Regions from separate parts of the Homo sapiens genome. Here regions 2 and 3 are each linked to region 1. The links are contacts of gene promoters, found by promoter capture Hi-C in blood cells and fetal thymus (Javierre and others, 2016). All regions are on one chromosome and are shown on one strand. The core of a region is centred on a gene start or on the middle of the fragment in contact, and the rest is flanking DNA. Distances in the headings are between cores, read along the strand shown. Region 1 holds the start of SLCO3A1 (solute carrier organic anion transporter family member 3A1). Region 2 overlaps SV2B (synaptic vesicle glycoprotein 2B). Region 3 has its middle 130 kb from the start of CRAT37.

The links. The method cuts DNA at HindIII sites, captures the fragments that hold promoters and counts their contacts. A CHiCAGO score of 5 or more calls a contact.
Region 2: a contact is called between a fragment that was not itself captured here and the fragment with the promoter of SLCO3A1 in region 1, in 1 of 17 cell types (M1 macrophages). The highest score is 5.4, in M1 macrophages.
Region 3: a fragment that was not itself captured here is called in contact with the fragment with the promoter of SLCO3A1 in region 1 in 1 of 17 cell types (activated CD4 T cells); the score reaches 5.8 in activated CD4 T cells.

Annotation. Positions count from the first base shown.
Region 1 is chr15:91,851,023-91,855,755 of GRCh38, reverse strand. It overlaps SLCO3A1 (solute carrier organic anion transporter family member 3A1), which reads right to left and starts at 2,048. Exons shown (of 10, transcript NM_013272.4): 1 at 1,668-2,048. The coding sequence starts at 1,847. RefSeq lists silencers at 2,444-2,583, 2,452-2,626. The HindIII fragment of the contact is 9,711 bases long and covers 1-4,733 here.
Region 2 is chr15:91,277,187-91,281,919 of GRCh38, reverse strand. It overlaps SV2B (synaptic vesicle glycoprotein 2B), which reads right to left. Exons shown (of 13, transcript NM_001323032.3): 10 at 59-192. Among named protein-coding and RNA genes, the nearest start is that of SV2B, 180 kb to the right of the region's middle. The HindIII fragment of the contact is 1,146 bases long and covers 1,348-2,493 here.
Region 3 is chr15:91,326,311-91,331,043 of GRCh38, reverse strand. No RefSeq gene overlaps it. Among named protein-coding and RNA genes, the nearest start is that of CRAT37, 130 kb to the left of the region's middle. The HindIII fragment of the contact is 3,270 bases long and covers 649-3,918 here.

The sequences.
Region 1 (4,733 bases), core at 799-3,298:
ACATATATTTTATTAATGTGAATTTGCATCTCTGTAATACATGTACTTATTTAAATATTTTAACAGTTAAATTTCCCCTAAGGAAGTGCCGATAAACTGACTCCCAAAACACAATTATCCCCTATCCCTCAAATTCCAAGGGCTAATAGGTACTGTCTGCAACTGCATATTATAACTATAGACACAATAAGTGTATTTTATAGAACAGAAAACAAGGTATGCTTTTGACTACAGGGTTCACTTGCAGTCTACAAGTTACGAATGCACAAGACAGAGACCGGGATGTAAACGCTTTTCGTCTCAGAATGAGCAACAGAAATGTATTTGATTTTCAAAAGCCCTGAAATTCTGTCACCCCAGGAACAGAGCTGAGTTTGAAGACCCCCTCTCTCACAACCACCTAACTTCCTCAACACCGGAGACCAAGCACTGCTTGTATTTCCCTTTAACAGTGAGCCCTGAGCCTTAAGAGATAGTTTATGAATGGTATACAGCCCCCAGCGTCTGGCCCTCATGAACTTTACCCCAAGGCCAGGAATGAGGGATTAATCATAGCATCAGGATACGCGTGGTTCTATCTCTGGATGTGGTTATTCAATGGCCAAAATCTTGTCCAATTCTATCTCCATCAAACTTGCTCAGGAATACTCAAAGTCTATGACATTTGATTCCAGTTGCGGGTCAATAGCCAAGTAATGATTTAACACTATAAACTCTCAAAAAAAATTTCCCGTTTAGACAGGACTGTACTTAGGTGTGGAAGCACGCTCTCTGGAACTCAAGTTGCGACCACCTGAGCAGAGGAGGCGAAAGCGACAAAGTAGGTACCTGACAGTGCTGAGTCATTACAAGCTGTTTCCTCTGAAATGTTACGCACCCATGGGCCCTCTGAGCATTAACATCCCCTTTCTGGAGGCAAATAAAATACATATTCATTGTGGAAAATGGTGCAACCTTCTGTAGGCGACAGACCACGATGGGGAATTTAGCACTAAGAGTGGATAGCAGGAACTACACAAACTCGCAGCTGCTCTCTAGGTACCGTAACTTTATCCCAGACGCTCAAAGAGGGCTATAGGGATACCGGGTGGCAATATTCCCCCTGCAGCCCCGGCTCAGGCCAGGGCCACACTAGGGCGCATTTCACTCTAAGCTGTTATATCCCCCTGTAATTGGCGGATGTAGAAAGCGCCCGGAGAAAATGATGCATAATAGATTTGTTCTCGAGGAGGATGCAATGGAGAGTAGAGGACGCAGGATGCTAACTGGTTTTTCTTCCCATGTGCAGGTCACCTGAAAACCCCGACGCTTTTTCGTTCCTCTCCAAGGAGAACCCTGAACTCACCGTCTCGCTCCGCTCTTATGGGGGGAGAGGAATAGTTTCACGCCCACCTGCCCGCCGCCTCTCCTCCCCCGGCACCCCCTGCCCCAGCCGGACGCGCGCGAGCTGCTACCGGCATCAACGGTCCCGCCCGCTACCCGCTCGCTGGCAGCCCCGGCCGGCAGCTCCCCCGGCGGCCGCCTCTGCACCACTCGCCAACCTCCACGCCGGGCCGAGGTCATGCCCGCCTGCCCCCAGCGCCGGGCGGCCCCCTCGTCGGGCCAGGCGGCCGCTCGAGAGCCGGGCTGGGGAAGGGGCCCGCGGCGGAGTTGGCTCGGGGACTCACCAGGTAGGCGCCCACCGTGCCCTGCGCCAGCATCAGGGCGCACTCGGACACCAGGAAGATCTTGATGTTGGAAAAGCAGGACACCTTCTTTTTCTTTTTCTTGTTCCTCTGCGCCTCGTCCCCCTGCAGCTCGCCGCTCCGGCCGCCGCCCGACGAACCGCCCGGCTTCTTCCCCTGCATCCTTCCCCCGCCGCCGCCGCCGCCGCCGCCGCTGCCGCTTTCCCGCTCGCCCCGGGTGTCGGGGCCGCTGCCGGGCGGGGGTGCGCGCCTCGAGGCTGCGTGCTGTCCCCGCCCCGGGTTCGCGGCGGCCGCCCCCGTCCTGCCGGGGCTGGAGAGGTGGAAGGCACAGCTCCTCGCCGCCGCCGCCGCCGCCGCGATCGCCCCTTCCTCCTCCTCCTCCCCCGCCTCCGCCCTCCCCTGGCCTCCTCCTCCGGCTCCGGCTGTGCCAATCACAGGGGCTCGTCGCGCCGCCCGCCGCCGCCGCTGCCTCGCCTCCCGCGGCCGCCCGCCGCTGCCATCGCCCGGTTCCCCTTGCCCGCCGGCCGCGCCTGCTCTCACCCCCTCAGCCCCAGCCCCAAGGCCTGGGCCTGGGCCGCCGCTGCGCGCCCTCGCCGAGCCGCTCCTCGCTGCCGGTGCGCCCCCGGGGAGGCACGGGAGGCGGGCTTGGGATGCGGAGGGCGGCCCGGCGGCCGAGGCTGGGAGGGTCCGGCTGCCGGGAGAACTGGGGAGACCCGGAGTCCTTGCGGAGTAAGGGGGGTGCCCCTGAGGGCGGGAGGCGGCGCCCGGCCCCTAGGTGGCGCTGCGGGGCACGGGGCCCCGCGGCGGAGACTGGCGGCTCTGCGCCGGGCGCGGAGATGGGGTGCGGAGGCGCCCCCGCGGGGCTGGGACCCGGCGCTCGGGAACCCGGGTGCCCAGGCCTCAGAGGGCAGGCTGTTCCCAGGAAGGGAGAATACTGAGTACCCAGGAAGGGCTTGGCGCGCGCTCTTCTCCGCCCGGGGATTTCTGGGGACAGATGTTGTGCTCTGGGTCTTGGGGAGGTGCCAGAGGTCAGAGCTGCTTGAGGCTTCTGCCGCCTGCCGGTTTCTGCCCCAGCTGTCCCCGGCCACAGGGGGTGTTGAAAAGGCCCCAGACCGAAAGGACAGAAAGGGGAAGTTAGAGGAATACGTCGGGAGCCCCACGGACCGTTAGTGCCCCAGCCTCGGTGTCCAGGCGCTGCAAGATCGCCGCGGCCCCAGCAGAGGGCCTTCTCCGGCCCTTCATCCGCCCAGGGCCCCGCTGCTGGAGCGCTCAGCAAGCGGCCAGCCGCAGGCCTGCTGGGTCCCCACCCGTCCCCTGGCTCTGTGGCCCTGGCCACCATCCTCGGCCTTGACCTGAATGCCTGGCCCATGGCAGCCGCTCCTAATTACTCCCCACTCTCACCGTTACCAAGGAGTGTGGGCCACAGGGCACTACCAATAGGATCTGCTAGTTCTCAACTGCAGCGTTTGGAAGCTGAGAGAAAAGCTCAGAGGGCTGGACAGGTACCAGGAAACAGCACCTTCCACCTGGGCCATTGGGGGACTCAAGGAATCATTTAAAACGGTTTCCTTAATAATTGTGTCAAAGAAAATGACCCACTCTCCCAAGCGCCTGTGTCCAAATGCAGGCTCAACTTCAAAACTGAATAGCAATGAACCCGACCATATTTTTCCTTTCTCCCGAAGAACTTGAATGAGAATGGAGGGTGTAATGGTGGGGATGTTGTTTTGCCATGGCATTTAAATATAAACTGCTTCATCCTTCTGTGGCTCCAGACGTGATCTCACCCAGGCTTGGTGTCGCTTTGAGATGCCCTCACCTTGTCTAGGCCACCTCCTATCTGAATTGGCTCCCCCCACACTTGAAGTCTCTTCCCGTCTTCCCCACTTCCTGAATCAGTGGTCACACCATTCCCGGCCAGTCCTATAATGAGAATCCTTACTGCCCCCTTCTTTCTTCCCCACACCCTCCTATCACTCGGAGCCAACTTCTCTGCAGGATCTTTATGTCCCCCTCTTTCCCTCCCCATCACTTTGCTTCATGGGCTACCTCCCCACTTCCTCCTGAGAAGACCCTTGACAAGCTAGCTCTGTTCCCTGCCTCTGTGACGGTAAGCTGCAAAGCTGAGCTGAGACTTGTCTACGAATGGTGACCCCATTGCTAATGAAATGTGCGGAGTGCTTTATAGTCTTCAACTCTTATTTACATTCTTTGTAATAACAAGAGCTAATGTTTACTGTGTGCTTATTATGGCCAGACACCATTCTCAGTGCTTCACCCGCATTTACAACGTAATCCTCACAGCAATCCTCTAAACCAGATACTATTATTAGCCTTGTTTTACAGATGAGACAACTGAGGCCTAGAAAGGTTAACCTGACCAGTGTCACTTGTCTAGTAAGTGGCAGGGCAAGTCTTTGAAAACCAGGTTGTCTGCCATCATAGCCCAGGTTCTTTATAACTACATACATATTATCTCGTTTATCACGCAGTGTGGTTCATCTGATGGGGAGGCTGGGACTTATGTTGTTCCTCTTTTATAAAGCTGGAAAGGAACAAAACTTGCATCCATGTCCAGCCCTTTTTGTTCTTTTTTGTTTGTTTGTTTGTTTGAGATGGAGTTTCGCTCTTGTTGCCCAGGCTGGAGTGCAATGGTGCGATCTCGGCCCATGGCAACCTCCACCTCCCGGGTTTCAGTGATTCTCCTGCCTCAGCCTCTGGAGTAGCTGGAATTACAGACGTGCCACCACACCCGGCTAATTTTGTATTTTTAATAGAGACGGGGTTTCTTAATGTTGGTCAGGCTGGTCTCGAACTCTGATCTCAGGTGATCCACCTGCCTCAGCCTCCCAAAGTGCTGGGATTACAGGCATGAGCCACCACGCCCGGCCAGCCCTTTTTGTTCTATGCCACAATGCCTCATGTACAGACTGAGAAGGGCACAGCCTTCTTTCAGCTTAACCATTTATTTTAGATTAAAAAATTAGCTGTCTTTAGAGAAATCACACACTTTTGCTGTCAGATAAAGGATTTCGGATTAGGGTTGTG
Region 2 (4,733 bases), core at 671-3,170, 570 kb after region 1:
GGACAACACAAGTTGTCTCCTGTTACTTTCTATTCAATCTGTCAATGTTCTTACCTACCTGTGTTGTAAAAGATGGTTGATTCAATGGTACAATTTTTGAAGTAGGTATCTGTTGATGTTACGTCTTCAAAATAGCACTCGTCAAAGAATGTGTCCTCAAAGAGTACATGTTTAAAGTACATTCTTGTGAACCTGTGGGAAGAGGTTGACCCTTGAGTGATTCATCTGAGAAAAAAAGAGACTTAAGACCAAAATGGAAAACACAGCAAGGCAGAAAAAGGAGATGTGCAAGCAAAAGGTGCCAGAGCATTATTTTCAACCCAGACCACTTCCCCACTTCTTAGCTGTTTGTTTATTAGTGGGGAAGGGCTTCAGGACCTGGAAGCCAGTGTCTAGCGTAGGTGCATACGGAGTGCTATGCACCAACCTGCTGGTTTTCAAAGGCAGGTCCACGGACCTTCTAAGTCAGAATCACAGAAATGTGAAATAGTGTGAAATTTAAATATTAATAACACCTCACTTTCTGAGACATTTTTAAAACATGCAGGTCCCTGGAGTGGTCCTAGAAGTTTTGGAAGCCATAGAATTGTGAAGGTCTGAGAATCTTCATTTTTAAAAAAATTGTCCCAACAAAGATGTGGGGAAATAGGCCTTTCATTCATACTATTGGTAGAATATAATCCATGCAGCCTCTTTGGGGAGCAATTTTGCAAAATTTGAAATGCACGTTCTCTTTGACCTAGGAATACCACCTCTAGGAATTTATCCTACACATACTTGCCCATGTATTCAAAGAGATACATTCACTGATCTTCATTGTAACACTGCTTGTAACAACAATGGATTACTACATACATACATATGTAATAGATGCCATATAATGGAATACCATGTAGCCATCGTAGTAAATGAGGTAGATCTATATGTGTTAATATGGAATAATCTTTAAGATATATTGTTAAGTTAAAAAATCAAGATGCAACATAGAGTTTACAAGACAGGCTCATTAAGGTAAGAAAGGGCATGGATACATATGCTTCCAAATATATCTGGAGAGCTACACAAGAAACTGATAGAAACGGTTGTTTCCAGGGAGGCACAATGGAAGTGAGGAATAATACACTTAATTTTCACTTTATGCCAAGCGTATGTATTATGTGTTCACTTTTTTTTAAAACTCAGTTAAAAAGACAATAAGGCACCTAGACGATTCTGAGGCGCAGCCACATGTGGGAGTCACTGCACCTCTCCAACTCCTGCATATTTAATAGGAAAGAACAATGCAACATTTAAAAATGTATCTCACATACATTACCATCTTCCTCTGTTGGCTATATTTAACAAGCTTGGTCAAACTTTTAGGCTGGAAGCCTTTAAATATGTCTTCATTTGCAAATAATTACAACACTTTCTTTCATTCTTCTATTCATTCACTTACATATTTAGTCTTCTGCAAACACTGAGCATGGTACTAGGTGCTATGAGTATAGAGAGGAAAGTCATGGTCCCTGCTCTCCAGTCTAATTGGAAAAAAGTGCAAGCAAATAGGCAACTACAATACAGTGGAAATCGGCATGACAGAGATAGCACAGGGTGCTGATGGCCATTGTTCCTTTTCAAAAGGGCCACCAAATAATTCACTCCATGACCACCTACAATGGGCCAGTGACCCTTATCCTTCATGCTCTATCATGTCCTGCTCAGAACCTTAATCTAGAGCTGCCAATCATTAGCTTCTGCTAAAAGACCCCACACAAGAAGTCCCGGGCAAGTGTTCACCAAAAGCAGGACCCCAGACCACTTGCATCAGAATAAACTTGAGGTTATTATTAAAGATGTCATTTCCTAAATTCCAGCCTACACCTCTTGAACCAGAATCACCAATGGCAGAGACCAGATTATTATACTTAAAGAAATTTGAGAATCATTGGTCTAGAAAACCAAACTATTTTGAGAAATTTTTCTTAGGGCCAAATTTGCTACAGACTTTTAAACAGGGGCCTCCAAAAGCTATCACTAAATTCTTCAGATTTCCATGGGAAAACTAATTGGTGAGTCTTTTGTTACAAGAAGATGCCTCTGATGTCAAAATGTATAAGCTAGACGTGTTTACTTAAGAGAGCTATTCCTGGAGACTGTTGCAGACCTTTGCTTTTCTTAATATATCCTTCTCTCTAATATAGTAATAGGCTGCTGATGTAGCCTTGGGTGATATTTTAATATTCTTCCCAGGGTGTCTGAGAAGGCAGAGCCATAAATCATAAATGGGTCTGACGCAGGCAGCCCTTAAAATGTCTCTCCAAGTCAGTTAGAAAAAGCCAGAGTTATAAGGGAAGAGATAAAAGGAGAAAGGGCCAACACATATTTTATGACGCTCTACATAAATCATCTCCTCCGATCTCCAGCCTATATACTGAATTGGCCTACCCAAGATTCTTGATTCAGGAGAGTTCAAAAGATGAAAGAAATGTTAGCAACAGTACTTTGTAAGCTTTTCCTTTAAGGCAACAGAAGCCATTGGCAATCCAAGGTCCATGACAAAATTGTCATTACATACACTTTGTTTCAGTTGCCTTCAGGCCCAATGGTTAGTCCAGCAAGTGATTTAAGCTACACCAAAGTCACATTCAACATGTGTTAGGCTTGAGGGCATCACCCTAAAGAAATTCAGTCTAATTAAAGAGATAAACAAGAAAACCAGCCATTAAAATTTAGTGTGATGATTATCAAGATAGAGGTATGCTATAAAACCACTTCTAAGGGGACACTTGTGATCCAGTTGGGTAAAGTATGAGGTGACTCACCCTGAAGGAAGAGTGAAAGCTCTCTAAGCAAAGATAAGGACATGTATTCCAGACAGAGGGAAAAGCATGTGCAGACACAGATGCATGTCATATATACTCTTCAATTGCCTTTTTTGAAAGCAGAGAATTCTCTTTCACGTAAATTACATCGTCATTTAAGGAGAAAATAAATAAAGGCTACGGCTCCCCAAAGTTCACACACATAAATATTTTAATAAGCTCTCTAGCCACCATGAAATGAAATAGAGTTCTTAAGAACAGGCACCCCGGCTTCTCACATATTACCTTAGATCAGGTCCTAATCTGAGGTAAATCAAAAGACAAATAAGAGGATCACTTCAGAAAATATGTACTTGGGCCTAATTTGCTTAAAGAAAAGAGGAAACAAATTCTTGCCTGAATATCTGTGTAACTTCTTTTTTTTTTTTTTTTTTTTTGAGACGGAGTCTCGCTCTGTCGCCCAGGCCGGACTGCAGTGGCGCAATCTCGGCTCACTGCAAGCTCCGCTTCCCGGGTTCACGCCATTCTCCTGCCTCAGCCTCCCGAGTAGCTGGGACTACAGGCACCCGCCACCGCGCCCGGCTAATTTTTTGTATTTTTTTAGTAGAGACGGGGTTTCACCTTGTTAGCCAGGATGGTCTCGATCTCCTGACCTCATGATCCACCCGCCTCGGCCTCCCAAAGTGCTGGGATTACAGGCGTGATGTGTAACTTCTTACATTCTCCAGGTGTAGGGGTCAGGCCTTCACCCAACCTGTGATGCCACCCTCCAAAAAATGAAGAGTCTAACTTTCAGAACTTAACCACCAGGAGCCCTCAAACAATTTTCTTCTCCTCTCGAAGCCCGCATTTAAAAAAATCTATAAAATAGGGGTGTTGAGAAGATGGCTCTTTTTGCAGCTCTAGCATGGTTCCATAAACGGGGCGTACTTTTACTGTGTGTAGCCCCAAGAAAGAAATAAAAGAGTGGACTTAGGAGATGGCCATCTTACTTCCTCAAATACTGAAATATTATCTCATGAAGAATCAGAAAATGTTCATGATGGGAAATCCTGGTGCCAACGTCAACCAAATAGCGTAAGGACATACATTCTTGTGCCTCAGTGAGTCTGGCAATAAAATCCAACTTCCCCTCTCTTTCTTTTCTTACACTCAAAGATACCTGAGTGGTGAAATCACGATACTTCACTCTGTCTCCTTTACAAAGATCCTAGCACATTTACTGCCTTTAGGAACGATAACTGAAGCATAGAACATAGAACAAAAAGGGAAATAATAAGGATATAAACATTAAATTAGCAAGAGAAAAATAGTAGAACAAATTCATATATAAATATAGTTAGAAACATCCTAAGTCAAACACTAATTTAGCCATGCCAAAATCTGGAAACAATTCAAAGATCCCTTCAACAGGTAAATGGATAGACAAAATACAGTAATACATTCAAATCATGGAATACTACTCCACAATAAAAATAAACTACTAAAAATGCAATAACATGGATAAATTCCAAATGCATTATGCTAAGTAAAAGAAGCAAATTCAAAAGGCTTCCTATTGTATAATTCCATGTAAGTAACATAAAGAAGATCATTGGCTGCCAAGGACTGGGGATGGAGAAAGGGCTGACCACAAAATGGCATGGGGAAATCCAGGAGGTAATGGAATTGTCCTGTATCTTGCTTGTGTTGATGGTTACATGACTGCATGCCTTTGTCAAAACTCACAGTGCTGTATACTAAAAGGGGTAAATTTACTGTACATAAATTATTCCTCAATAAAAAAGGAAGTTTCAAAAAGTTTCTAAGGTAACCATAGCTAAAACAAAATCCAAACCAAGCTCAACTACTGCCTAGATTTTCTTAACCTCCCCACATACTGTTAAAACCTAGCAAAAGAGGTGTACACATTTTTTAGTCCCTACTGTC
Region 3 (4,733 bases), core at 1,034-3,533, 520 kb after region 1:
ATACCTGGTAAAATTATTTTTCAAAAATGACAATGTAATAAAAACTCTTCAAACAAGCTAAAATTGAAATTCATGACCAAAAGACCCTCACTGAAGGAAATTCTAAAAGATACCATTCAAGCAAAAGGAAATGATCCGAGATAGACAGCTGAGACTTAAAAGGGAATGGAGAGCAAGGAAAGTTATACACATATCTGTAAATATAAACTTAATGCCTAGTGAAACACACACACACACATGCATACACACAAACATGCATACATGAAGAGTTATAACACCATATAACAGTAATATGGGCAAGGGATAACTGATATTGAAATATTCTAAGGTGTATCATGGAGTAAAAAAATGTATTAAATTTTGATTTTTTTATGTTAGGTATGCATGTTGTCATTTCTATGGTTACTACCAACACAGTCAAGAAAAAAAAAAAACCTAAAAGAAAAATCTATTGTCTAAGTTAACAATTCTGGTACTGCTATACATATAAACAGAAATTGAACAATTAAGTAAACAGATGGCAGATGGTAGGAGCCAGGCTCCTCATTCTTGGAGCGGGAACTTACAAATAGGCAAGGGTGGAGGCTAGAATGATTGATGTGGTGATGAATTAAAGTTGGGAACATTAATAAGAATTCATGTGAAGCTTAATATAGATACCTGTGGTTACATAGTATTGATATGTATAGATATGTGTATACCAGTTAACATATACACATATTTCTTTGCTCTGTCAGCTAAACAGGCCTAAAAGAAACAATAAGCATACCTAGATCCAAAATCTTGATTTCCAATACCAATCTCCAAAAAGAAAAAAGAAAAAAAAAGAAACCAGCACTCCTTGAGGTAATGGCTGATTCTAGGATTGAGACAGGAAATATGCAAGATGAGCTTGGAGTATTTTGCAGTGCCAGAAAGGAAGGAAGTGCCTTAAAAAAATCAGACAGAGGAAGTGGAGCAAGATGGCAGAATAGAAGCCTCCAGCAACTGTCCCCGCTGAAAGAACACCAAACTGAACAATTATCCACACACAAACAAATCTTCATAAGAACCAAAAATCAGGTGAGTAATCCCTGTACCTGGTTTTAATATCATATTTAGGAAAACAATACCTGGTTTTAACATAATATCAGCTTGATATTAAAGAAATCATATTAACATCTTATGAAAAGGGTAGGAAAAACAATCACCTACACACCCCTCCCCTATCCCCCAGCAGTGACCACATGGCGTGGACAGAGAATCTGTGTACTTTGGAGAGGGAAAGCACAGTGGCTATGAGACTTTGTATTGGAACTTGGAACTCAGTGCTGTGCAGTTACAGCAGAACTCCAGGCCGAACTCAGCCAGCACCCACAGAGGGAGCATTTAGACCAGCCGCAGCCAGAGGCAAATCATCCATCCCAGCAGTTGAAACCTGAGTTCTGGCAACCCCTCCATCACAGGTTAAAGTGCTCTGGGGTCCTAAATAAATTTGAATAGCAGTCTAGGTCACAAGGTCTGTAATTCCTGAGCAAGTCCTGATGCTGTGCTGGGCTCACAGCCAGTGAACTTGGAGGGTACCCGACCTAGTGAGACACCAGGTGGGGAAGCTGGAGGGGTGCTCGTGTCACCCTTCCCCCAATCCTAGGCAGCACAGCTCACAGCTCCAGGAAAGACTCTTGCTTGAGGAGACCACAGGGGAGAATAAAGAGGAATTTGTCTTACAACTTGGATACCAGGTCAGCCACAGTAGGATAGGGTACCAGGCAGAGTTCTGGGGCCCATATTCCAGGCCCTAGCTCCCAGACAACATTTTTAGACAAACCCTGGACCAGAATGGAACCTGCTGCCTTGAAGGGAAGAAACCAGTCTGAGCAGGATTCATCACCTGCTGACTAAAGAGCCCTTGGGCCCTGGATAATCAGCAGTGATACCCAAGTAGTACTTGTTCTGGGCCTTGGGTGAGACTCAGAGCGGTGCTGGCCTCAGATATGACCCAGAACGTTCCTAGTTGTGGTGGTTATGGAGAGAGACCCCTTCTGCTAGAGGAAAGGAGTGAAAAGGGTAAAGGGGACTTTGTCTTACAGCTTGGGCACCAGCTTGACCACAGTGGGATAGAGCACCAAGTGGACTCCTGGGGTCCCCAGTTCCAGGCCTTGGTTCCTGGATGGCATTTCTGGACCTTCCCTTGGCCAGAGGGGAGCCCACTGCCCTGAAGGGAGAGATTCAGCACTGGCAACATTTACCTCAAGCTGACTGAAGTGCCCTTCCCTTGGCCTTGAGTCAACATCCGTGGTACCCAGGCAGTACTTGCCATGGGCCTGGACAGTGGTGGCCATGGAGAGAGACTCCTCTGCTTGAGGAAAGAGGAGGGAAGAGTGAAAAAGAATCTTGTGGCTTTGGTGCCAAGCTGAGCCACAATAGGAAAAAGCACCAGGTAGATTCCTAAGGTTCTCGACTCCAGGACCTGGCTCTCAGATGGTATCTCTGGACCCAACTGGGACTGAGGTAAACTTGTGGCCATGAAGGGAAGGACACAAGCCTGGCTGGATTTGCCACATGATGATTGTAGAACCCTTGGGCCTTGAGTGTGCATAGGCAGTAGCCAGGCAGTGGTGACTGCAGGCCTTGGGTGTAACCCAGTGTTGTGCTGGCTTTGGGTCTGACCCAGCACAGTGGTGGTGGCCATAGGGGTGCATGTGTCACTCCTCCTGCAGCTTCTGGCAGCTCATCACAAACAAGGAGAGTCCATTTGTTTCAAAGAAAGTAAGGGGAAAGAACAAGAGATTCTGTCTGGTAATCCAGGGAATTCTCCTGGGTCTTATCCGAGACCACCAAGGCAGTACCTCTATGAGTCTGCAAAAGCCACAGTATTACTGGGTAGCTTAGTGTGCCCCCTAAAATAAATACAGCTGTGGTAACCAAAGACTTAGACCACAACACTTAAGTCCCTTCAAATACCTAGAAAGTCTTCCTGAAAAGGATGAGTACAAACAAGCCCAGACTGCAAAGACTATGATAAATACCCACCTCTTCAATGCCCAGACACCCACAAGCATCCATAAGCACCAAGACAATCCAGGAGAATATGACTTCATCAAACAAAGAGTCCCAAAAATACAGAGATATGTGACCTTTCAGACAGATAATTCAAAATAGCTGTTTTGAAAAGCTCAATGAAATCCAAATTTAAAAAAAAAAAAACTGAAATTCTATCAAATATCTTCTCTGACCACAAGAAAATAAAATTAGAAATCAATAACCAGAGAATTTTGGAAACTATACTAACACATGGAAATTAAACAGTGTGCACTTGAATGAACAGTGGATCGATGAATAAATTAGAAATAAAATTGACACCTTCTTGAAACAAATGATAATGGAAACACAACATACCAAAATTTATGGGATATGGTGAAAGCAGTATGAAGAGAAAAGTTTATAGCAATAAGTGCCTACATCAAAAAAGTAGAAAAACTTTAAATAAAAAACCTAATAATGCATCTTAAGGGACTAGAAAAGTAAGAGCAAACTTAGTAAAAAGCAAAATATTGAAAATCAGAGCAAAACAAATGAAATTGGAAGAAACAAAAGAAAACAATACAAAAGAACAATGAAATTAAAAGCTGTTTCTTAAAAAAAAAAAAATGACAAGCCTTTAGCCAAACTAAGAAAAGAAGAGAGACAATCCACATAAATAAAATCAGATTTGAAAAAGGAGACATTCCAATTGATACTACGGAAATTCAAAGGATCATCAGAGGCTACTATGAGCAACTATTTGCCAATAAATTGGAAAACTTTGAAGAAATGAATAAATTTCTAGACACATACAACCTACTAGGATTGAACCATGGAGAAATTCAAAACCTGACAGACCAATAACAAGTTATGAGATCAACACCATAATGAAAAGTCTCCCAGCAAAGAAAAGCTTGGAAACCGATGGCTTCACTGCTGAATTTTACCAAACATTTAAAGAAAAACTAATACCAACCCTACTTAAACTATTTTGAAAAACAGAGGATGAGTGAATACTTCCAAACTAATCTTATGAGACCACTATTACTCTGATACCAAGACCAGACAAAGACTCATAAAACAAATTACAGGCTAATAACCCTATTGAATAGTGAGGCAAAAAATCCTCAACAAAATACTAGCAAACTGAATTTGACAACACATTAAACAGATCATTCATCATGACCAAGTGGGATTTACCCCGGGGATGCAAGGATGGTTCAACATATGCAAATCAACCAATGTGCTACATCATATCATCAGAATGAAGGACAAAAACTGTAAAATCATTTCTACTGATGCAGAAAAAGTATTTGATAAAATTCAACATCCCTTCATGATTAAAAAAAAACTTAAAATCTAGCTATAGAAGAAACATACATCAGCATAATAAAAGCCATAAATGACAGATATACAACTAGTATCATACTGAATGGACAAAAACTGAATGCCTTTCTTCTAAGATCTAGAACAAGACAAGGATACTCACTTTCACCACTGTTATTCAATATACTACTGGAAGTTCTAGCTGGAGCAATCAGACAAGACAAACAAAGGGCATTCAAATTGGAGAAGAAGTGAAGTTATCCTTGTTTGAGAGCTACAGACAAAAAACACATGATCATCTCAATAGATGAAGAAGAGGCTTTCAATAAAATTCAGCATTCCTTTCTGTTAAAAACTCTGAAGAAACTAGGTGGTGAAGAAACATACGTCAAAATAATAAGAGC